7 separate regions of the Homo sapiens genome follow, and regions 1, 2, 4, 5, 6 and 7 are each linked to region 3. Evidence: promoter capture Hi-C in 16 types of primary human blood cells and fetal thymus (Javierre and others, 2016). All regions are on one chromosome and are shown on one strand. The core of a region is centred on a gene start or on the middle of the fragment in contact, and the rest is flanking DNA. Distances in the headings are between cores, read along the strand shown. Region 1 overlaps NMRAL1 (NmrA like redox sensor 1). Region 2 overlaps HMOX2 (heme oxygenase 2). Region 3 holds the start of NUDT16L1 (nudix hydrolase 16 like 1). Region 4 overlaps DNAJA3 (DnaJ heat shock protein family (Hsp40) member A3). Region 5 holds the start of LOC105371064 (a long non-coding RNA gene). Region 6 overlaps HMOX2 (heme oxygenase 2). Region 7 holds the start of PPL (periplakin).

Region 1 (3,190 bases), core at 622-3,121, 230 kb before region 3:
GTGTTGAATTGAAATTCACAGAACTGCTGGGCTCAGTGGCTCATACCTGTACGATAATCCCAGCTACTCAGGAGGTTGAGGTGGAAGGATCACTTAAGCCTGGGAGGTGAAGGCTGCAGTGAGCTATGACTGTGCCACTGCACTCCAGCCTGGGCAACAGAGCGAGACCTTGACTCTTTAAAAAAAAAAAAAAAAAAAAAAAAAATTGGCCAGGCGCGGTGGCTTATGCCTGTAATCCCAACACTTTGGAAGGCCGAGGCGGGCGGATCACGAGGTCAAGAGATCGAGACCATCCTGGACAATATGGTGAAACCCCGTCTCTACTAAAAATACAAAAATTAGCTGGACGTGATGGTGCATGCTTGTAATCCCAGCTACTCGGGAGGCTGAGGCAGGAGAATCACTTGAACCCAGGAGGTGGAGGCTGCAGTGAGCTGGGATCGTGCCACTGCACCCCAGCCTGGGTGACAGAGGGAGACTCCGTCTCAAAAAAAAAAAAAAAAAAAAAAATCGGAGCTGCCATGGACCACAAACTCTCAGGCAAATAACTGGTCTCTCGGCCTCTGACCCTCTTCTCTGTGACCCACCCCAGCAAGCAAGGTGGGTTGTTTCTCCTTCAGTTTTGCTTCCCAGCAGTGTCCAATTACTGTGCGTTGTGGACCACAGCTCTGCCACATCCGATTTTCCTTTTTCCAACCTGTTTGAAGTTCACCTGTGTCCAGGATGGTACCCCAAGGCCGGCTCCTTCCAGGACAAGGATGAGGAGAGAAAGGGAGAAGCCCATATCTCCCCCGCCTCCCTGCAGAGCCTGTCTCCAGTTCACATGTGCAGATGGCCTCACTAGCTCTGGAGATGAAAGGGGTGTGTCAGAAGCTCGGCTCCTGGGGCTCCTCTGTGTCCTGTGCTATGTCCCCGTCTGTGAATGAATTTCAAATGTGGGAACAGAGGCTGCTGGTCAGAGCTGTTCTGCTAGCTGAGGTCAGAACAGGCCACTTCACACCTGTCTGACTAAACACGTTTAGGTCACTCGTCCCAGTCACCAAGTGATCCCTTCAGCCTTGGACCCTCCCTTACTGCTGTGTTGGTACAGCCCTGGAGCCACCCCTTACTGCTGTGTTGGTACAACCCCGGGTCCCCTCACTTACTGCTGTGTTGGTACAGCCCTGGACCCCCCCCCCCCGCTCCAACTTACTGCTGTGTTGGTACAGCCCCGGACCCTCCCCAACCACTTACTGTTGTGTTGGTACACAACTACCACCCCAACCCAAGTCCTGGAAGCAGAGTCCTCTTCTCCTGGAAGCCATCTGGGAGAACAATGGCTTTATTCAGATGTTGGTGCCTCTGCCCCTCTGGTGCCCCCGATCCCCACAAGGGGCCGCGAGGCGGGCAGGTCACAGCAGGTTGAAGTCCCCTTTGTGCTGTTCCAGCCACTGGTCCAGCGTCAGGGCCTTGGGGTTGAGTCTCAGGGTCAGCTCGATGTCACGGTCGGGTCTCAGGGCATAGAAACGGAACATGTTGGCCAGGTCCCGGGCACCGGGAAAGCCAAGCTTTTCGTAGTCCTCAGGAGTCATCTGGAAGCAGAGGAGCCTGTCGTGGCCGGCGTCCTCCAGTGCCCCGGGAGGTGGCGGGGCAGGGAGGCCGGATGGGCTGGGGTCTCCCGACCTGCTACACCCAGAGCCACTATTGTCTCGGTCCCTGACCCAGGTCCTCCGTACAAGGTCATTTGAAAACTTCTAAGAGCCGAAAGTTCAGAAACTGCTGCTCTCCTGAGCTGCCTGACATTGTAGATCAGTTTAAAGATTGTTCTTGGCCAGATGCTGTGGCTCATGCCCGTAATCCCTGCACTTTGGGAGGCTGAGGCAGGCAAATCTCTTGAGGCCAGGAGTTCGAGACCAGCGTGGCCAACACGATAAAACCCCGTCTCTTTCAAAAATACAAAAATTAGCCAGCCTGGTGGTAGGTGCGTGTAATCCCAGCTACTTAGGAGGCTGAGACAGGAGAATCGCTTGAAACCAGGAGGTGGAGGTTGCAGTGAGCTGAGATCACCCCACTGTACTCCAGCCTGGGCAACAAGAGTGAGACCCTGTCTCAAAAATGAATAAATAAAAAGACTATTATTTTCAGATCATGAGACGAAAATATCTCAGTCCCTTCCAAATCAGAGACCTGCCTGCATCACTTTCTTTCTCAAAAACCAAAGCTTGACCAGACACAGTGGCTCACACCTGTCATCCCAGCACTTTGGGAGGTGGAGGTGGGAGGATCGCTTGAGCCCAGGAGTTAGGCCCACCACGCCGGGCTAATTTTTTGTATTTTTAGTAGAGACGGGGTTTCACCGTGTTAGTCAGGATGGTCTCGATTTCCTGACCTTGTAATTGCCCGCCTCAGCCTCCCAAAGTGCTAGGATTACAGGTGTGAGCTACCGCGCCTGACCCAACTTTCGTCTTTTAAGGACTCCAGTGTTTCCCAGATTCTTTTTTTTTTTTGGAGTTGGAGTCTCGCTCTGTCGCCCAGTCTGGAGTGCAGTGGCATCTCGGCTCGCTGCAAACTCTGCCTCCTGAGTTCAAGCGATTCTCTTGCCTCAGCCTCCCAAGTAGCTGGGATTACAGGCGCCTGCCACCACACCCGGCTAATTTGTTTATTTTTAGTAGAGATGGGGTTTCACCCTGTTGGCCAGGCTGGTCTCAAACTCCTGACCTCAGGTGATCCACCTGCCTCGGCCTCCCAAAGTGCTGGGATTACAGGCGTGAGCTACTGCACCCAGCCTCCCAGATTCTTTAATGAGTATGTCTTACTTTCCTAATGGTAATGACAAACATTAGAAACCAGGTACCCAAGAGTCTGTCCAGTAGGCCTCCTGCCCACCCAGCCAGGCCAATGGGGGCAGGGGTCGGCCCTATCTTTCTAGCCTCTTTCCCTTTAAATCCCCTCCCACAGGGGAGGGGTCGGGTCTATCTTTCCAGACTCTTTTCTCTTCAAATTCCCTCCCACAGAGGAGCCCGGCAGGGCCTGCATTTTCACCCCTCCTTGCCTTGGCTCCTATGGCCCTCTCCTCCTGGAAGCTTTTCTCTCTATTTGGTCAAAACATCTAAGCCAGAAATTTCACTCTGTGGCCAGTTAGCTCCTGGAACAGCAGAAAATAAACGTTGACGATGAACGAATGAATTTAGATGTACTGCCCAGAGGTGTG
Region 2 (3,338 bases), core at 317-2,816, 190 kb before region 3:
CAAAATGACAGTTCTGCATATGCATCTTAATCACCTACTTTTTTTCCCTCCACCCCCAAATGCTATTCACAGTCCTTGTTTATGATAGAAGCTGAAGCTTACAGGTGACAATTTTTGTGCCTGTATGAAAGGAAACATGACTGACTCCACTTATCCACACGACACCTGCTTTCAAGGTTGTTCAGTGTTGGAATAATTTTTGCTTGATGGTAACCTAGGGATGACCCAAGGTTTCATTAGTTAAAGCCAGCCCTGTGGGATGCATGAAGTCTAGCCTCTGTCCCTGTAAAAATCCCACCAGAACCATTTTAGAATTCACTCAGGACTTCACCCCTCCCGCTCCTGGTGCTGCTTATGGAACTAAAGAATCCTCATCTTCTCAGCCCTGGGACACATTGTCCTCATATAAAGCGAGGTGGCAATCAGGGAACAGGGGCGAGTCTTGTGCTTATTTCAGTTATAATAGGAAGGCTCTACCAGGACTCATCATTGTCCCAACAATAGTCGATTCCAGGCCCCTTCTTTGAACTCATTTCAGTGTCTCAGGTTCTGTCCTTGGTGTCTGTCTTCACTGCTTGCTCAGTTGTATTTGAACATGGCTAGAGATGAGCACACTTCTCTTCTCCAGTAAAAAAGCCTGCAAGAAAAGTCTTGGACTTCTTGAACTGCTATTCAGTTGTCTTTTTTATTCAATGTATTTTTTGAGATGGAGGGGGTCTCACTTTGTTGCCCAGGATGGTGTTGAACTCCTGGCCACAAGTGATCCTTCTGCCTCAGAGTTCCAAAGTGCAGAGATTACAGGCTTGAGCTACCACAACCGGTCTCTTGTCAGTTTTTGAGGTTACTTAAGAGGTTAATGCCTTTAAATTAGTTTGCAGTTGTTTTGCTTTTGCCTGCCTTCTTGCCCAAATGCGCAAGTGCTTATTTAGTAATCTGACTCAAGTGCTTTGTGTCCCCAGAGTCCCCACTTTTCCAGGATTCATTGTCTTTTTTTTTTTTTTTTTTTTTTTGAGACACAGTCTTGCTCTGTTGTGCAGGCTGGAGCGCAGTGGCACTGTCGGCTCACTGCAACCTCCACCTCCTAGGTTCCAGAAATTCTCGTGCCTCAGCCTCCCAAGTATTTGGGATTAGAGTCACACACCACCACACCTGGCTAATTTTTTTATATTTTTAGTAGAGATGGGGTTTTGCCATGTTGGCCAGGCTGGTCTTGAATGCCTGACCTCAGGTGATCTACCCGCTCGGCCTCCCAAAGTGCTGGGATTACAGACATGAGCCACCACACCCGGCTGGATTCAGTCTTAACTTGCTCTTTTTTTTTTTTTGCATCTCACTCCCTTGCCAGGCTGGAGTGCAACGGTGTGATCATAGTTCACTGCATCCTTGAACTCCTGGGGTCAAAAGATCCTCTTGCCCCAGTTTCCCGAGTGGTTGGGACTACAGGTGTGTGTCACCACGCCTGGCTAATTATTTTATTTTTCGTAGAGACAAGGTCTGACTGTGTTGCCCAGGCTAGTCTTGAGCTCCTAGGCTTAGGTGATCCTCCCACCTTGGCCTCCCAAAGTGTCAGGATTATAGGTGTGAGCCACTGCACCCAGCCTGGATTTGCTCTTTTATCAAGAGGTTAATATTTATTCTTCCGTTCAGTGAACCGTGGGATTGAATTCCCCCAGCGATTGAAATGAAAGGGCTTATGTATAACATTTCCTGAGGAATGGTAGTACCAGAGTTCAGAGGAGACCTCAGGCCATTTATTCTATAAACTCAGAAGCTGTAGTTCTAGATGATGTGGCTTCTTCAGGGTGTTGAGAAGTCTCTGTTATCTCGTGCCTTGTTGGATTAGAACTGATTGAGCTCTGTCTGCTGCCCCAAACATGTGGCTCAGCCAATCTCCAGTGGCATCTGCAATGTGGGTATTCTAGCCTCCAGTGCTCACGTGGCTCACCTTAGAAAGGGCAGATATTCCTATTTCCTGACGCTGCTGGAGAATGAGGTCTGAGTCAGAAGTCCTCAGGTGTGACCTGCCCAGAACTATCTGAAATTGCTGGATTTCTTGTTCTTCCTCAGTGTTTAACAATCACCCAATTGCTCATTCTCACCAGCGACTTCCTCAGTAAGAGCTCAATATTTGAGGTGGTGCTGCATTTTGTCAAACATTCATGCGTGTTAGCCCACTTAGTCTTCGCAGCACACAGTGGATTAATGGATTTTTAAAAGCTGGTATTTATGCACGATGGAATACTACTCAACCATAAACAAGAAGGAAATTCTGTCATTTGTGACTACATGGATGCATCTAGAGGACATTATGCTAAGTGAAGTAAGCCAAAGAAAGAAAGACAAATGGTGCATGATATCACTTATATGTGAAATCTGAAAAAGTCAGTTATAGAAGGAGAGTGTAACATGTTGGTTACCAGCGGCTGGGGGAAGGGAAGGGTGGGTGTGGAAAGGGGAGATGTTGATCAAAGGGTACAAAATTTCAGTTAGGAGAAATAAGGTCTGATGATCTGCCTTACAGCATGGTGACTATAGTTAATATGGTTAATATTATAATAGTATTGTATACTTCAAAATTGGTAAAAGAGTGGATTTTAAAAGTTGTCACCACAAAGAAATGATAAGCATGTGAGCTGATGGATATGTTAATAACCCTGATTTAATTATTCCCCAATGTATACATGTGTCCAAACATCACACTGTACCCCATAAATATAATTGTCAGTTAAAAACTTAGGAGTCAAGTCAGATCTGAAGAGAAGTCAAAACAGATTTCATACAGTTAATTTAGAGACATGGGACCCAATTAAAAATTTGTATTACTTTACTTGGTATTTTAGAATTTAGCTGTTATTTTCTTGTTACACACACAGGCACAGGCACACAAATCCTCTATTTAACTGGCTTTCTCAGTAGGAACTCCATCTGTGTATTTGCAACAGCTGTAACTCAGGTTGGATGCTCCCCAGGGTGCTGGCCTATAAGTCATATTGGACCCTGATCTGAATCTGAGGGAATCTGGATCTCTCTTGTAGGAAGCTTTTGGTTTAACTGGGAAGACAGGATGACAGTCAGTTGTGGAAGCTGAAGCGTAATCACCTCATATTAATATGGTGGCAATTTTATATCGGAGTGAGCTCTGAGCTGCAAACAGCCTTCTAGGAAGCAGGCAGGGGACCCCCATCCAGGGTGATGGTAAGAATCCTGATGCCCAACTGCAAGGTGTTCAGCAGGGAGGGAGCACTCGTGGAGTCCCAGTGCAGAAGTCTCTGAGCAGCCACTTAGCCTCCCTGTGTTTGTGGGGTAACAACCCGAGTTCATGTTGTGGGCATCTCATG
Region 3 (3,197 bases), core at 408-2,907:
GGCCCCAGCTCCTTTGCGTGCAGGTCAAGCTGCCACCATGGCCCTTCTTTGAAGACTGTGAGGGTGGAGGGAAAGCCCGTGTTCTAGCCCATCAGTCCCTGCCCCGAGAAGGCTGCCACCCATGGGCCCTGCAGCTGCTCTGACCTGCCTGGGTCTGGCCCCATCCCAGTGTGGGTAGAGGGGTGCCCAGGGTGTCAGACGGGTGCTTGCATGGGCCAGATGGGCTCCCCCTCTGTACCTCCCAGAAGAGCCAGCGCTTGTATTGATGTCTGGTCTCGGGGAGGGGCTGCAGCAAGGGGAGCCTCTCCTCCTCTGCCCCTGCGTCCCACGGGCCCTGGGCGCTGGCTGGGCTTGGCTGCCTAGGGGTGGGGCCCTCTTTGGGTGAGAGGACCCTTCCCCTCGCTGCCCTCTCGCCTTCTCACATGGTCGCTCACTCTGGAATCTGGACTTCCCCTGCTGCTTGCAGCTGTCCCATGTGACCCCTGACCCACTGGTGGCCACAGGAGGAGAGAGAGGTGCCCTCTCTGGGTCCTTATTCTCCACATCTGAGGCCACCACGGACCTAACAGGTGAGTTTCCAATGCCCACCCTCTCCCTCTCTCTTCTCCTGCCTGCCTCCACTGAAGGCAGCCTTCTCTGTGCCAGCGAGCTCGGCCTCACTGCACGGCTCTCCCGAGGCTGTGCCCCAGCCCTGGGCACCCATGCTGTGAGTGCAGGCAGGGGGGTTCATGTGCTCAGCAAATCCATTCCCCTGGTGGGGAGGAAAGTGGCCCTGGGCCCTGCTGCTGGTGAGGTGAGCCTTGCCATCATGGAGTTCAGGGCACCTCGCTCTGCCTTGGGCTGTTTCGGATGCTTCTGAGCCCCAGAGACATCTCCAGTACAAACACAAGGTAAGTGGTAAGTACCTCAGGCCCTTGTGGAATCGGGATTCTGCCTCTGTCATCAACTGCCAGTTGTACTTAGGCAAGTTATGTCCCTCTCTGAGCTCCAAGTTCCTCATCGTAAATTGGGGAAACCCCTCTTCCCCCCACAGTACCTGGCACAGGGTGCCCGGCTTGGAGGATGCTGGAAAGGTCCAGCCCCGGAATTTAAGTCACTTTCTGCCCAGCAAGCTGGGTCCACAGAGCCCCAGAGCTCCCGGTCGTCCGCCCTGACCCAGCGTGGACTCGGGGACTGGGGCACTCAAGCCCTGCCAAGCCCTGCTCCCCGTGCTGTCCTGGATCGAGCCTGCCAGCAGGGTGGCTAGGTCGGGACAGCTGTCGTGCATGGCAGGCGAAGGCCATCTCCCTCCGGGCTTGGGTCCGGTGGCGCTGGCGGAGCAAGGCTCCGGGGCATCTCTGGCTCGTGTGGTCGTGCCAAGGGTGCCATTGCGGATGGACGGGGCCATGCGGGCCGGGTCGGCCTCCTGGGGAGAAACGGGTGGGCGCAAGGGGATCGGCGCCATCGAGGGTGGAGAAACCGCAGGGAATTTCGGCTGTCCGCTTTGGGGCGCCAAGGAAGATGTTCGTCGCCCACAATGTCAACCTTGAGCCACCACGGCACCGACCAGTCGTCTAGGCTCTCCCGTCGGAGGCGGGGCCGCCGCCCAGGGTGTGCGACTATTGGGTGACGGCTGACGCGCACCGCCCTCCTTTGCACACCGCCCGCAGCACCTCTCGACGACGCACCGCGGCGCTGCGAGGGGCTCGGTCCCGGGGCGCGCCGGCGATTGGCGGGGGAACCGGACCCGGGGGCGCGGCCGCCCGCGGATTGGCGAGGCACGGCGGGGGCGGGCTCGCGCATGCTCTTAAGTGGCAGCGGCGGGGACGGGGTCAGTGCCAAGATGTCGACGGCGGCGGTTCCGGAGCTGAAGCAGATCAGCCGGGTGGAGGCGATGCGCCTAGGGCCGGGCTGGAGCCACTCGTGCCACGCCATGCTGTACGCCGCCAACCCTGGGCAGCTCTTCGGCCGCATCCCCATGCGCTTCTCGGTGCTGGTGAGGACGGGCGAGGGCGCGGGCGAGGGTGCCGGCGCGGGCGGGCCCGGGCGGGGGCGTCCGTCGACCCCGCGGCTGTGACCCGCGCTCCCTTGCAGATGCAGATGCGTTTCGACGGGCTGCTGGGCTTCCCCGGGGGCTTCGTGGACCGGCGCTTCTGGTCGCTGGAGGACGGCCTGAACCGGGTGCTGGGCCTGGGCCTGGGCTGCCTGCGCCTCACCGAGGCCGACTACCTGAGCTCGCACCTGACCGAGGGCCCACACCGCGTCGTGGCGCACCTGTACGCGCGGCAGCTGACGCTGGAGCAGCTGCACGCCGTGGAGATCAGCGCGGTGCACTCGCGCGACCACGGCCTGGAGGTGGGGCCGCCGCCCGGGCCCCGCCCCCCGCCCCGGGGTTTGGCTCTGGCCCCGTGGAAGGCACCGATGGGTAACACGTCTCCTGAGGGTCCCCTGGCCGGGCTGGGTCGGGTGTCGCTGTCTCCAGCAATGGGGTGGGGAGAGGGGTCTGGGGCTGGGAGGCCGGGAAAGGAGGGGCGGGGGTGGGGGCCGGCGCTGGGGCTCCCTCAGGGCTGTGTTACATCCGCCTTGCTGCCTGCCATTGCCAATCCTGGGAGTGGGGGAGTGGGATCGGTGGGGAGGAAGGGATGGGGGAGGAGCGGGGATTGCTTGGGGAGTTGGGAAACTTGAGCACAGCGGGGGTTGTAAAACTTGGGAACCTCATGTTGGGCGTGAAGGCTCTTGGGATTTGTACTTTGTGGTCTGGAAGGGCTGGACTGCGGGTGTTCAGGCTTCGTTGGGTGGACGGGGGGAGCATGGGGTGCGGACCCCGGGGTGGGGTGGCCTGGGTACGAGGGGGGGGAGTGCATGGGGTCAGCCTCCACACTTGCTTGGGGAGGAGGGGGCTGCACTGCTCCGAGGGAGCTGGCTGGCTTCTGCCAGGCCCTGCGTGGGTCTCCCATTAAGTCCTTGGCAAAGCTGGCTGCTCATACCCTGGCCTCATAGCTTCCAGGCCCCTCCTGCTGGAGGTGCCATTGTGTGGCAGGCCTGGCCCCAACCCCTACCTCCTGTCTGCGCAGGTGCTGGGCCTCGTGCGGGTCCCGCTGTACACCCAGAAGGACCGAGTCGGAGGCTTCCCCAACTTCCTGAGCAACGCCTTCGTGAGCACGGCTAAGTGCCAGCTCCTCTTTGCCCTCAAGGTGCTCAACATGATGCCCGAGGAG
Region 4 (3,581 bases), core at 687-3,186, 250 kb before region 3:
GGGCAGACAGGGTTGAGGCTACCACACCGTGTGGAGAGGGTGGACAGGGCCGAGGCCACTGCACTGAGTGTGAGTGGGCTCTTGGTAGAAGTTATGGTTGAGGCCCTGGAGCCCCAGGCTGGAGGAGGAACTGGAGTCTCCTTGAATCTTTCTGTTTCTGCCAGTTATCCTTAAAATTTACACTTTGCATGTCACAATGGGGAGAAGAGACCTGACGTGCCTACTCTGCTTCTTCCTGGTGAGGGAGCAGCTTCCAACCCCCGGGCTCCTCTCCTCTCTCCCCTGTCTTAGTCACCGAAGCCATCATTGTCCCTGCTGCCACCCTATCTACATCAGCCCCACGGATCCCACCCCTCACTCCATGTCTACTGTTCCCTTGCCCAAAACTCACTTTCTGCTTTCTTTTTTCGGTTAACTTTATTCATCTTGGAGATCCCAGCTTGAGTATCCCTTCCCTAGCTAGCCTCACACCCTCCTCCCTGTTCTTTTTTTTTTCTTTTTTGAGACGGAGTCTCGCTCTGTCACCCAGGCTGGAGCGCAGTGGCCCGATCTCGGCCCACTGCAAGCTCTGCCTCCCAGGCTCATGCCATTCTCCTGCCTCAGCCTCCCAAGGAGCTGGGACTACAGGCACCTGCCACCACACCCAGCTAATTTTTTGTATTTTTAGTAGAGACGGGGTTTCATCGTGTTAGCCAGGATGGTCTCGATCTCCTGACCTCGTGATCCACCCGCCTCGGCTTCCCAAAGTGCTGAGATTATAGTCATGAGCCACCGCGCGTGGCCTGCTTTACTGTTGTTTAGATGTCTGTTTCTCTAGAGTTGTGAGCATTTCCATTGAAGAGCATGTCTCTGTTTGTAGTTATGCATTAGTGCTATCGTTTGGTTAACACCCATCACCCCAGTGAGACCATGAACTCCCTGAGGTACTGCCTAGACCAAGCCTGAGGCAGGTGCTCAGTCATCAGGTGTCTGTGTTGCATCTCTGGAAGGTTACCCATGTGCCTCTTAGATAATGACATTGTTCCTCGTTAATAAGAAACAGGAGTGGGGAAGAAGCTGTGGGTTACAAGTGGATCTTGGGTGGAAAGTGCTGTGGGAGGTCTCACAATAACTGCTCCCTTTCTTTTTTTTCTTTTTCTTTTCTTTTTTTTTTTTTTTTTAAGACGGAGTCTCGCTCTGTTGCCAGGCTGGCGTGTAGTGGAGTGATCTCGGCTCACTGCAACCTCCGCCTCCTGGGTTCAAGCGATTCTCTTTCCTCAGCCTCCTGAGTAGCTGGGACTACAGGCGTGTGCCACCACGCCCAGTTAATTTTTAGTAGAGACCAGGTTTCACCATGTTGGCCAGGATGGTCTCGATCTCTTGACGTCATGATCTGCCCGCCTCGGCCTCCCAAAGTGCTGGGATTACAGGCGTGAGCCACCGCGTCCTGCCTAACTTCTCCCTTTCTAATGTCCCTTGTAGGAGTCGAGGATGGCCAGACCGTGAGGATGCCTGTGGGAAAAAGGGAAATTTTCATTACGTTCAGGGTAGGTGCCCTGCCCCGCACAGCTTCTGTTGGGCCTTTCCTCTCTTCGGGTGGGTGTGGCTGAGGCTGCTCCCATGTAATCAAAGCTTCACAGGAACATGTCTCGCCATTCATGTTTCTGAGGGGCACAGTGGCCACCTAGATGTGGTTTTTAGCTGTTTGTTACCTTCAAGATTCTGTGCCTTGTGTGGAGAGAAGACAACTTCTTCAACATGCTAACAAGTTAGAAATACAGGTCACATAAAAATACAGGAAACATCTTGTGTTTTTATGATAAGATTGTTGATGAGGCAGTGAGTGTGAAAGTTACAATTTTACATACTGTATACAGGGGCAAACCTTGGTTTTCTGAGATGGTGGAAACATTAATGAAGACAATGCCTTCTACTGGCAATTGCCCTCCTATGTGTACACCTGAGAAAAACCCACACAAGCCTAGCAGGCGATAGGTACAAAGGGGTGCACAAGAGTCCTGTCCATGGTAGCAAGACACTGCCTTCCTCCAACAAGAGAATGGCTCAGTGAGCCGTGGTGGTCAGAGGCTGCTGCAGGGCAGTCGGAAGGAAAGAATGAGAGCTGAACTCAAGGGATGCTCCAGGCGTTGCAGGTACAGACAGCAGGGATGGAAGGCAGCTTGCCAGTGGCTGTAGGGCCTCAGAGACCATCTGTGTAAAGTTTTAAAACCTGTGAGATGGCATTATGTATTATTTAGGGACACGGAAATACATAGTAAGTAGAAGCTTGTAGGAATGATAAATGTTAAAGTCAGGGTTGTGGTTAGCTGAGGAGGGCAAGACTCACCGGTGTTTATGATGTTTTATTTTATTTTACTTTATTTTTTGAGGTGGGGTATTGCTTTGTTGCCTAGGATGAAATGCAGTGGGGCAGTCTTGGCTCACTGTAGCCTCAGACTCCCTGGGCTCAGGTGATCCTCCCACCTCAGCCTCCTGAGTAGCTGGGACTACAGGCACACGCCACCAGGCCCGGCTGACTTTTGTATCTTTAGTAAAGATGAGGTTTCACCATGTTGCCCAGGGTGGTCTCAAACCCCAGGGCTCAAATGATCCACCCACCTTGGCCTCCCAAAGTGCTGGGATTACAGGTATGAGCCACTGCGCCCGGCCTGTGATATTTTGTTACCTCCACTGGGTTGTGGGTATGACATGCTTGTTATATTATTTACTCTTCCCTTTTTTTTCTTTTTTTTTTCTGGAAAGAGAGTCTTGCTCTGTTGCCCAGTCTGGAGTGCAGTGGCATGATCTCAGCTCACTGCAACCTCCACCTCCCAGGTTCAAGCGATTCTCTTGCCTCAGCCTCCTGAGTAGCTGGGACTACAGGCATGCGCCACTACACCCAGGTAATTTTTGTATTTTTAGTAGAGATGGGGTTTCACCATGTTGGCAGGCTGGTCTCGAATTCCTGACCTCAGGTGATCCACCCACCTTAGCCTTCCAAAGTGCTGGGATTACAAGCGTGAGCCACCACGGCTGGCCTATACTTTCTAATAAAGTAAGATTTTTTTTTTTTTTTTTTTGAGGTGGAGTCTCGCTCTGTTGCTCAGGCTGGAGTGCAGTGGTGTGATCTCTGTTCAGTGCAAACTTCATCTCCCAGGTTCAAGTGGATCTTCTGCCTCAGCCTCCTGAGTAGCTGGGATTACAGGGGCCCGCCACCACACCTGGTTAATTTTTGTATTTTTAGTAGAGACAAGGTTTCACCATGTTGGTCAGTCTGGTCTCAAACTCCTGACCTCAGGTGATCCACTCACCTTGGCCTCCCAAAGTGCTGGGATTACAGGTGTGTGCCACTGTGCCTGGCTAAAGTAAGATTAAAAAAAAAAAATCAAAAGCCAGTTTTACATTTTTGTTTCCCTTCACGATTGAATGGCTTGATCTGAGACTGAGGAAATCCAGGCACGCTTCCATTTCGGCATTTCAAGTGTGTAGAACATTGCAGTGTTGAAATATGTAGAACATGTCATTCCTGGGCCTGGGATGGTGTCTCCTTGTTGGAAGGACAGTTCTTTCCCTCAACACTGCACTTTATGTATGGAAGGGGT
Region 5 (3,366 bases), core at 479-2,978, 220 kb after region 3:
GGCAGCAGCCAACATGCTGGGGATCCATCCGTCTAGGTTCCACACCTTGCTTAAGGGCCAGCTTTGTGGCAGACCTGGATACACCGGAGCTGGGGGATCTTGAGGGAACAGGACCCAAGCCATACCTTCTGCAAGGTCAACTGGGGGCAGCCTGTCCCAAAGTGGGGTCCCAGGAACCCAACTCTTACAAGTCTTATTCTTCCTTGGTCAAGGCACTTAGGAAAACCCCATCCTTGATATGTTCATGAGCCAGCAAAGGCACTGACAAGTCCTGCAGTGGAGAAAGCCAGTGTTTGGCGGGGTGGCCAGGAAGGCTTAGCAGTGGGGGGCTTTGGATGGAGGATCTCGGTAAGAAGGGATAAGGTGGGCTTCTAGAACAGCCAGGTCAGGGGTCCACCCGACTCCTCCCTCATTCCCTAACCCCCCACTTCCTGGTTGGGCAGGCCACATGGAGAATGTGAGTTTCTGGGCCCCCACACTCCCACCCCAGTCACTGACCATCTGCCAGGCCAGCTGCACCTAGAGGCGGTGAGTCTCACCCCAAATATTTAACCCCTGACTCTGCAGTGCATCGTTAGGGTCTGTACTGTGGCTCAAGTGGGGGCCTTTGTCTCTCTTGGGCCCAGTCCCACCTCAGGCACAGGGCCAGCTCCCAAACCAGCCCTTTCATGGATTGTGGCAGATGCAAGAAAAGCCACCTTCTGGACTCTATCCTGGCTGGGCCTGTTGTTCCAGCCGAAGCCCCCCAGAGGACATGGGAGTTGTGGGGCAATGACCACTGCCTCAGGGACCTTGGACTCCTGATGGGACAAAGCTGTGAGCGGTAGCAGGAAGCTATGAGCAGACAGGCCAGGCCCAAGGCCCACTGGGCTGCTTGCTGCTTAGACAGCCTCAGGCAAGTGCCCTACCCTCGTACAGCCTCCGCTTCTCCATCTGTCCTCTGGCGATGACCACAAAGGCATCCTGGGCATTTGCCACTTGCTGTGGGCTTTGCCAGACCTCAGACATATTCACAGGCACCAGCTCAATATCATCCTTGCCCTAAGTCCCCGGGGAGGTTGGTGTGCCCCTTTGAAGAAGGGGATGAAGAAACCAAGACTCTGAGACATCAAAGCACTTGCTCAGGGTCACACAGCTGGTGAACCGCGATTCTCCCCGCAAGCAATCTCACTCCAGAGGCATGTGATCGACTGGGCTAGAAGTTACTCATGGGGATGCTAGGAAAATCACACCAATAACAATCTCCACCATCGTAATATGAGCTAATACTTACTCTCTACGTGCCAGGCTCCTCACTGTTTCTGACTCAATCTTCATGACAACCCTGAGAGCTGGGTGTTAGCATGGTAGGTAATTGTATTATTATCCCCGTTTATGGGTGTGGAAACTGAGGATCAGAGAGGTTAAATAACTCTCCCAAAGTCACCCAGCAATTAGATGGCAGAGCCAGGACTCTAGGCCCTTAACAATTCCATGTGACGATCTTACAGGGCTCCCAGCACACAGTAGGTACTTCACAGATTAATTTAAAATGCCAAGAGCCCAAAACCACACCGGGATGCCACTTTTCATCCACTACAATGGCTATAATAAAAAAGACAATAACAAGTGTTGGCAAAAATGTGGAGAAATTGGAACCCTCGTGCCTTGCTAGTGGGGATGCAAAATGGTGTACAGTTGTGGAAAACAGTCTAGAAATTCCACAAAAAGTTAAGCAGTCACCATAAGACCCAGCAAGTCCACCCCTACGTATTTTTTTTATTTTTATTACTTATTTATTTTTTTGAGACAGGGTCTCACCCTGTTGCCCAGGCTGGAGTGCACTGGCATGATCTCGGCTCACTCAGCCTCCGCTTCCCAGACTCAAATGATTCTCCTACCTCAGCCTCCCGAGTAGCTAGGATTACAGGTGTGTGCCACCACACCCGGCTAACTTTTGTACTTTTAGTAGAGACGGGGTTTTGCCATGTTGGCCAGGCTGGTCTCGAACTCCTGACCTCAGGTGATGCACTTGCCTTGGCCTCCCAAAGTGCTGGGATTACAGGTGTGAGCCATTGCGCCCAGCCTTATTATTTTTTGAGACAGGGTCTCACTCTGTTGCCCAGGCTGGACTGCAGTGGTGCAATCTTAGCTCACTGCAGCCTTGACCTCCCAGTCTCAAGCAATCTTTGTACCTCAGCCTCCGAGTAACTGCGACTACAGGCGCCTGGCACCGTGCCCAGCTAATTTTTTTTTTTTTTCAGAGAGGGAGGTTTCGCCATGTTGCCCCAGCTGGTCTTGAACCCCTGGGCTCAAGCAATCTATCTGCCTCGGCCTCCCAAAATATTAGGATTACAGGCGTGAGCCACTGCACCCAGCCCACCCCTACATATCTATCCAAGAGAAATGAAAACCTATGTCTGGGCTGGATGCGGTGACTCACGCCTGCAATCCCAGCACTTTGGGAGGCCGAGGCAGGTGGATCACCTGAGGTCAGGAGTTCGAGACCAGCCTGGCCAACATGGTGAAACCCCATCTCTACTAAAAGTACAAAAAAATTAGCTGGGCGTGGTGGTATGTGCCTGTAATCCCATCTATTCGGGAAGCTGAGACAAGAGAATCGCTTGAACCTGGGAGGCGGAGGTTGCAATGAGCTGAGATGGCGCCACTGCACTCCAGCCTGGGTGATGGAGCAAGACTCCATCTCAGAAAATAAAAAACAAAAAAACAAAAACAAAAAAACAAAAAAATCTATGCCTGCACAGAAACTTGTACATAGATGAATCACAGCAGCATGATTCATAATAGCCTTTTGGCCTCCACTTTTTAGTGGAAACAACTCAAATATTCATCAACTGATGAAAATATAAACCAAACGTGGTCTATCTCTATTATTCGGCCAAAGAATGAAGGCAGGACTGACAGCTGCTACAGCCTCAGGAACCTCGAGAATGTTATGCTCAGTGAGAGAAGCCAGACACAAAAGCTCACATATTATTCCATTGATAAGAAACGTCCAGAATGCAGAAATCTACAGGAGCAGAAAGTGGATGAGTGGTTGCCATGGCCCAGGAGGATGTAAAATGGACAGTGATTGCTAAGGGGTATCAGATTTCTTTTTGGGGTGATAAAAATGTTCTAAAATCAATCGTGGGGATGGCTGTACAACTCTGTGACTATATTAATATCCACTGGGCTGGGCGTGGTGGCTCGCACCTATAATCCCAGCACTTTGGGAGGCCGAGGTGGGCAGATCGCTTGAGACCAGGAGTTTGAGAGCAGCCCGGGCAACATGGTGAAACCCCATGTCTACTGAAAATACAAAAAATTAGCTGGGCATGGTGATGCACACCTGTAGTCCTGGATACTCGGGAGGCTGAGGTAGGA
Region 6 (3,092 bases), core at 530-3,029, 210 kb before region 3:
AAAAAAAAAAAAAAGAAAGAAAGAAAATTAGAATTGTGTATTTCACTGTAAAATTTGAAATTCAGCTTTAACTCCTTGGAAAGGAAAGAGATGAAAAACTTGACCTAGACTGGGTGCGGTGGCTCACGCCTGTAATCCCAGCACTTTGGGAGACCAAGGCGGGTGGATCACCTGAGGTCAGGAGTTCGAGACCAGCCTGGCTAACATTGTGAAACCCCGTCTCTACTAAAAATACAAAAATTAGCCTTGCAAAAAGTAGCCTGTAATCCCAGCTACTCGGGAGGCTGAGCAAGGAGAATTGCTTGAACCTGGGAGGCAGAGGTTTCAGTGAGCCAAGATCATGCCATTGCACTCCAGCCTGGGCGACAAGAGCAAAACTTCATCTCAAAGAAAAAAAAATTCTATCAGAGTGAACAATAAGTAGGATGCTAGCACATACCTGTAATCTCAGCTACTTGGGAGGCTGAGGCAGGAAGTTAATACTTGATGAGCCTAAGTTTTTGGTGTCTTTGGATGCTGCTTGTCGATCTAAGGGGTTTCCAAACGCTTCTTTTTTGGTAAAATTGGGATTATGACTAGGAATCTGTTTTTTGGAGTTTCCCAGGTGATCCTTGTTTGGGGTCCTTGTCTAAGGCACAGGCTGGAAAGAGGAGGGAGTGGACTGGCAGGGAAGATAGAGCAGTAAGCGAATAGAATACCTGGGGAAAGGGACGCCAGAAGAGTGATTGTTGTCTGGTGAACTGTGCTGTCAGTGTGTATGTCAGAAGCCAACAAAGTGGATATTCTCTTCACTCAGCTTAGGGAAAAAATTAATTTTTGTTTCACAGATAGATTCGTTTCCTTCCCAGGAGTATTATAGGCCTAATTACTGTCATAGTTCTCAGTAACTTTAAAAAGGCTGTGGGGAAGAATGGCATAACAGACTAGTATCTTGTACCCAGCCTGCCTTTTTCTTATTCTATTTTTTTTTTTTTTTTTTTTTTTTTTTTTTTTGAGACAGTCTTGCTCTGTCACCCAGGCTGGAGTGTGGTGGCACAATCTCAGCTCACTGCAACCTCCGCCTCCTGGGTTCAAGCGATTCTCCAGCCTCAGTCTCCTGAGTAGCTGGGATTACAGGCGTATGCCACCATGCCTGGCTAATTTTTGTATTTTTAGTAGAGATGAGGTTTCACTATGTTGGCCGGGCTGGTCTCCTACTCCTGACCTCAGGTGATCCGTCCACCTTGGCCTCCCAAAGTGCTGGGGTTATAGGCATGAGTCGCTGCGCCCGGCTTTTTTATTTTTTATTTTTTATTTTTTTGAAACAGAGTCTGGCTCTTTCACCCAGGCTGGAGTACAGTGATCTGATCTGAGCTCACTGCAATCTCTGCCTCTGGGGTTCAAGCAGTTCTCCTGCCTCAGCCTTCCAAGTAACTGGGACTACAGGCATGCACCACCATGCCTGGCTAATTTTTGTACTTTTGGTAGAGATGGGGTTTCGCCATGTTGGCCACGCTGGTCTCCAGCTCCTGACCTCAAGCGAACCACCCTCCTTGGCCTCCCAAAGTGCTAGTATTACAGGCGTGAGCCACAGCACCCGGCCTTTTTTTTTTTTTTTTCCTTAGAGTCTTGCTCTGTCACCAGGGCTGGAGTGCAGTGGCGCCGTCTCGGCTCACTGCAACCTCTGCCTCCTGGGTTCAAGTGATTCTCCTTCCTCAGCCTCCCTAGTAGCTGGGATTACAGGTGTGTGCCACCACACCCAGTTAATTTTTGTATTTTTAGTAGAGACGGGGTTTCACCATGCTGGCCAGGCTGGTCTCAAACTCCTGACCTCAAGTGGTCCACCCACTTTGGCCTCCCAATTAGAATTAGAGGTGGAGCGACCGTGCCCGGCTAAGGGCCTACTATTTTTTTTTTTTTTTTTTGAGACAGAGTTTCACTCTTGTCACCCAGGCTGGAGTGCAGTGGTGTGACCTTGGTTCACTGCAACTTCCACCTCCCAGGTTTAAGCGATTCTCCTGCCTCAGCCTCTGGAGAAGCTGGGATTATAGGCGTCTGCCACCACGCCTGGCTAATTTTTTGTATTTTTAGTAGAGACGGGGTTTCACCATGTTAGTCAGGCTGGTCTCAAACTTCTGATGTCAGGTGATCCACCTACCTCGGCCTCCCAAAGCATTGGGATTACAGGCGTGAGCCACCGCGCCCGGCCAGGCCTCGTATTTTTGCTTTTGCTCATGTTTTCATGTCTGAGATAGAGGGCCTACTATTAAAGCACTGTGCTGAGGCTGCAAGAAGGTACTAGTGTGATTAAAACAATCTGGTCCGGGCGCGGTGGCTCGCACCTGTAATCCCAGCACTTTGGGAGGCGGAGGCGGGCGGATCACGAGGTCAGGAGATCGAGACCATGCTGGCTAACACGGTGAAACCCCGTCTCTACTAAAAAATACAAAAAAAATTAGCCGGGCATGGTGGCGGGCGCCTGTAGTCCCGGCTACTCGGGAGGCTGAGGCAGGAGAATGGCGGGAACCCGGGAGGCGGAGCTTGCAGTAAGCAGAGATCGCGCCACTGCGCTCCAGCCTGGGAGACAGAGCGAGACTCCGTCTCAAAAAAAAAAAAAAAAAGAAAAAAATAAAACAATCTGGCATTATAATGCCATCCTGATTTTAGTTAATCTAGTTGACTGGCTGGCCTCATAAGTAGCTGTGATGATCATAATTTTTATGCGAAACACCTGTCATTGAGCATACAGGTGTACTGAAAGAATTGGGTGGAACAGGGTATTTGAAATCAGAATTGTTCTGGAAAGTCGGGTACATAAAGCTCTATCTTTAGCACAGTTGTCTGTATTGCACAATTAATATTTATAGAATGGTACACCTTATGTTATCTTTTTATTTTTCCACCTAACTCTCTCTCTAGATTGAAAGGTACTTGACGTGCAGAGCAAGATCTTATCTTTCTTTGTAGTCACAGTACTCAAGAGGGTGATAAATGTTTGTTGATGATAATGTAATGTCACCTGTCCAAGTGTAGCCATCATCTTCAGTAGTTACTTGATCTGCTGTTGTGTCTGGCAAGACTGCTATGTGCTGCTGCAGAGGAGCCATTGTCAC
Region 7 (3,348 bases), core at 370-2,869, 240 kb after region 3:
GGAGGGGTGTGCAGGCCCTGCCCAGTCTCTGGGGTTGTGAAAGATAGGGGAGGGGTGGGGAAATCTCTAAAGGCGGGTAATGCCTCTGAGCTTGAAAGAGCCCAAACGGAGATACGGGTGGGTGGGATCACAGGGCAGGGGGGTTTCTGAAAGGGCTGGAAGGCCCCGGAATGGAGTGTCGCACTCCAGCGTGCTAGGGCCCCGCCGCCTGCACCTGTCCGACTGGTCGGCCTAGGCCGGACTGCAGGGGTTGAGTGGGAGCCCTGGGCCCAGAGGCCTCTCCTTGCCTAGGGAAGAAGTGAGGAGCTGCTTGAGGGCACAGTGGGGGCTCCCAGTGAGAGCAGCTTGGGGGCAGAACTCCCAGACAGGAGAGCCATGTAATGTGCGGGCCCCTCACCTGCCTGAAGCCTCTTGTCCGAGAAGCTGGCAAAATGGTCCTTGCTAGCCCAGAGCCCCCACTCTATTTTCCGAAGTGGGGATATAAGGCAGGGGCTGGATTCCCACCCCCTCCGTCAATCTCAGCATCTCCACCAGGCTCCCCTAAACCGGTTATTAAGTGAACACATTAGGCTTATCAAAAGGGACGTGGGCTGCTTCTCCCTGCAAACACATCAAGACATGCCATTCCCCTCCCAGGCCGCCCTGGGAACCCGCGGCTCAGAGACGCCGCCAGTTTCGGGGCTGGGGTGGGGGCAGGGAGCCACACCCCTGCGAAACCGAGCTTCGAAGAGGAGGCCCCGAAGCCGCCCAACCTCCGCTCAGAACCCAGAGGGTGGGGAGGTAAGGGGGTGCCTCCCCCTGTGCCCCTCGACCCGACCCCACACCCCCCAGGGCCTCCGGGCGCGGCTCTGGCGCGCAGGGTGGCAGGTGCCGGGAAGTGCAGCGGCGGGTGGCCCGCCCCCTCCGGACACCCATCCCTCGCCTCCCCGACGCCAGGAACACTTGCGCGGTCTCAGAGGCGCTGGAGAGCGCCCCCCGACGCCAGCTCAGTTTCCCTGCCTCAGGGCGCCCCCTGGACGGAGCTTCCTGGGTCGCCCGCAGCGACCCCGCCTTGAGTGCCCGGTCCTCCAAAAACTCCGCCCCCTCATCCAGGTGACTATTCCCGGTCCTGTGCGACCCTCTGCGCAAGAGCGACCCTGGGACACGGGGGTGCCCTGTACCCCCAGCTCAGCTGCCCGTGCCCTAGGCCCTCAAGGCAATGCTCCCTGGGCTCCCGGAGTCCCCTGTGTTATGCTCCCCCTCGGGGACCCCAGCCAGTCCCTTCCCACCTGGCGGCGCTTCCCAGCTTCAGGGTGGCCTCGGTCCCGCGTTCCCGAGAGTCCCGCACTCCGGGTTCAGTTCCCGGTTCCTGGACCCCCGTACCCCCCATTCCTACACTGCCCGGGAGGTCTTCCAGGTCCTGTGCGCCCACAGGGGCAAGAGCGTCCCGGAGCGGAGCTGTGGGCGCCTCCTCACCTCCGGGTCTGCACAGTGGGGCTGTATTTGCCTTTGTTTCTCTTCCTGAAGAGCGAGTTCATGGTGGCGCTCGGGGTGCGGGCGGCGGCGGCTGGCGGGCCGGGCGCGCACCGAGGGGCGGGCGGGAGCGCAGGTGAGCGAGCGGCGGCGCGGGGAGCCCGGACTGCGGCGCGGCAGTGGCTCCGGGTCCCTACTCGCTGGGGGCGGGGCGCCCGCCGGCCACTGGCTCTGCGGGCCGCTCCCCGAGAAGGTGGTGCTTACCTTCCCGAGGAGGGGCCACCGCGCGGGCGGGGCTTGGACGCGGGGGTGGGGACACTGGGTCTTGGCCGGACGCCGCCCACCCCCAGCCGGGGGACTCCGGAGGCCGGGCAGGCACTGGGGCGCAAAGGCCGCCGGGGCGAGCGCTCGCAGCCCCACCCTCCTCGGGCCCGGCGCGCCTCTGGCCGAGGCCTTCACCTGGTTCTGCGCTACCGCGGAACTCGGCGCTCCTGGTGCTTTGGCGGACACCCAGCTGGGCCCCGCAAGACAGGTGCGGCAGAGACCCGCACGGATTCATGTGCCCTAGTAGCTAGCGAATTGCACTCAGATGGTGGCAATTGAGGGAAGGGGGCTGAACTGCCGAGGGCGCCGGCCTGAGTTCAAGCCCTGCCACCCCCAGGTTGGCTGACACTCCTGGGCAAGGTGTTTTACTGCTCCCAGCCACAGTTTACTTCTTTGTCAAACGGTGATAACCACCACCCCATCCGAAAGGCCTGTGGGGATGTCCCTGCAGGTAATGCACGCAAAGCGCTGAGCGCAGTGCCCTGGCCTGAATCTGCTCTCCGCTTGCCATCTCGGGTGGACAAAAACTCCTTTGAAACTTCAATAACTCCAGGCCCTGGCACTAGAAGAGCGCTTCATAGCTGGTCATAAAAGCTGCTCGATTGCGGCTCAGAACAACGACGTTGCACAATTCTGCCAGCATGTCCTGGCCCAGACTGTGTGCCAGTGGAGGAGGCTGCCCTTAGACAGAAACCTAATCTGACCTGAAGCCCGGATGGCACACACCACCACACCTGGCTAATTTTTAAAAATTTTTGTAGAGGCAGAGTTTCACCATGTTGCCCAGGCTGGTCTTGAACTCCTGTGCTCAAGTGATCTGCCGGCCTACAGCCTCCCAAAGTGCTGGGATTACAGATATTAGCCACCGTGCCCAGCCAACCTTATTCTTAATGGGGCTTCTATGGGTGGGCTTAACCCATTTATGCCTGAGGTTGCAATTTTTTGAATTGATAAATCATACCTTGGCAGTGACCTTGAGCAGTAGGAGATAACTCCCACAGGCGTCACGTTCCAATAATGGACCACTAGGCGTAAATAGAGGTGTGATTCCTCCTAAAGTTGTGCCTGCCTGCCTGCCTTCCTTCTTTCCTTCCTCTCTCTTTCCTTTCTTGCTTTCTTGCTTTCTTTCTTCTTTCTTCTTTGAGACTCAGTTGCCCAGGCTGGAGTGCATTGGCACAATCATAGCTCACTGCAGCCTTGACTTTTGGGGCTCAAGCAATCCTCCCACCTCAGCTTCCCGAGTAGCTGGATCCACAGGTGTCCACCACCACGCCTGGCTAATTTTTAAAACCTTTATATTTATATATGTTTTTTGTAGAGATGGGGTCTCGCTGTGTTGCCCAAGCTGGTCTTGAATTCCTGGGCTCAAGCAGTCCTCCCACCTTGGCCTCCCAAAGTGCTGGGATTTCAGGTGTGAGCCACTGCACCCAGCCCTAAAGTTGCTTTCAAAATGTGTGTGTCCAAATGTGCATTTTTCTGGGGGAGGATGTATTGCTCAGTGGAGTCATTTACTCATTCAACACATGTTTCCCATCACTCTCACAGCCTCAGTGTGCCTGGCTCTGCTTGTTG

The links. The method cuts DNA at HindIII sites, captures the fragments that hold promoters and counts their contacts. A CHiCAGO score of 5 or more calls a contact.
Region 1: a fragment that was not itself captured here is called in contact with the fragment with the promoter of NUDT16L1 in region 3 in 1 of 17 cell types (neutrophils); the score reaches 5.0 in neutrophils.
Region 2: a contact is called between a fragment that was not itself captured here and the fragment with the promoter of NUDT16L1 in region 3, in 3 of 17 cell types (neutrophils, erythroblasts and M1 macrophages). The highest score is 6.1, in neutrophils.
Region 4: a fragment that was not itself captured here is called in contact with the fragment with the promoter of NUDT16L1 in region 3 in 3 of 17 cell types (monocytes, neutrophils and M1 macrophages); the score reaches 6.7 in monocytes.
Region 5: a contact is called between a fragment that was not itself captured here and the fragment with the promoter of NUDT16L1 in region 3, in 1 of 17 cell types (erythroblasts). The highest score is 7.6, in erythroblasts.
Region 6: a contact is called between a fragment that was not itself captured here and the fragment with the promoter of NUDT16L1 in region 3, in 7 of 17 cell types (neutrophils, M2 macrophages, erythroblasts and 4 more). The highest score is 7.4, in neutrophils.
Region 7: the fragment with the promoter of PPL here is called in contact with the fragment with the promoter of NUDT16L1 in region 3 in 5 of 17 cell types (megakaryocytes, M1 macrophages, M2 macrophages and 2 more); the score reaches 7.6 in megakaryocytes.

Annotation. Positions count from the first base shown.
Region 1 is chr16:4,460,389-4,463,578 of GRCh38, forward strand. It overlaps NMRAL1 (NmrA like redox sensor 1), which reads right to left. Exons shown (of 6, transcript NM_020677.6): 6 at 1,306-1,571. The coding sequence ends at 1,392. Among named protein-coding and RNA genes, the nearest start is that of NMRAL1, 13 kb to the right of the region's middle. The HindIII fragment of the contact is 653 bases long and covers 1,546-2,198 here.
Region 2 is chr16:4,497,075-4,500,412 of GRCh38, forward strand. The region is part of intron 1 of HMOX2 (heme oxygenase 2); the gene reads left to right. Among named protein-coding and RNA genes, the nearest start is that of HMOX2, 22 kb to the left of the region's middle. RefSeq lists a silencer at 3,234-3,338. The HindIII fragment of the contact is 2,942 bases long and covers 96-3,037 here.
Region 3 is chr16:4,691,905-4,695,101 of GRCh38, forward strand. It overlaps NUDT16L1 (nudix hydrolase 16 like 1), which reads left to right and starts at 1,658. Exons shown (of 3, transcript NM_032349.4): 1 at 1,658-1,975; 2 at 2,074-2,334; 3 at 3,054-3,197. The coding sequence starts at 1,823. RefSeq lists enhancers at 1,229-1,318, 1,570-2,077, 2,078-2,585, 3,188-3,197 and silencers at 1,509-1,868, 1,979-2,478. The HindIII fragment of the contact is 13,448 bases long and covers 1-3,197 here.
Region 4 is chr16:4,443,203-4,446,783 of GRCh38, forward strand. DNAJA3 (DnaJ heat shock protein family (Hsp40) member A3) reads left to right here. Exons shown (of 12, transcript NM_005147.6): 7 at 1,462-1,526. Among named protein-coding and RNA genes, the nearest start is that of DNAJA3, 19 kb to the left of the region's middle. The HindIII fragment of the contact is 654 bases long and covers 1,610-2,263 here.
Region 5 is chr16:4,914,446-4,917,811 of GRCh38, forward strand. The region is part of intron 1 of PPL (periplakin); the gene reads right to left. LOC105371064 (a long non-coding RNA gene) reads left to right here and starts at 618. Exons shown (of 4, transcript XR_933028.3): 1 at 618-1,346. LOC124903637 (a long non-coding RNA gene) reads left to right here. Exons shown (of 3, transcript XR_007064965.1): 3 at 1-3. The HindIII fragment of the contact is 7,303 bases long and covers 1-3,366 here.
Region 6 is chr16:4,478,766-4,481,857 of GRCh38, forward strand. The region is part of intron 1 of HMOX2 (heme oxygenase 2); the gene reads left to right. LOC124903636 (a long non-coding RNA gene) reads right to left here. Exons shown (of 3, transcript XR_007064964.1): 2 at 2,999-3,092; 3 at 499-796. Among named protein-coding and RNA genes, the nearest start is that of HMOX2, 3.9 kb to the left of the region's middle. The HindIII fragment of the contact is 5,105 bases long and covers 1-3,092 here.
Region 7 is chr16:4,935,529-4,938,876 of GRCh38, forward strand. PPL (periplakin) reads right to left here and starts at 1,620. Exons shown (of 22, transcript NM_002705.5): 1 at 1,456-1,620. The coding sequence starts at 1,517. RefSeq lists a silencer at 1,563-1,962. The HindIII fragment of the contact is 7,029 bases long and covers 1-3,348 here.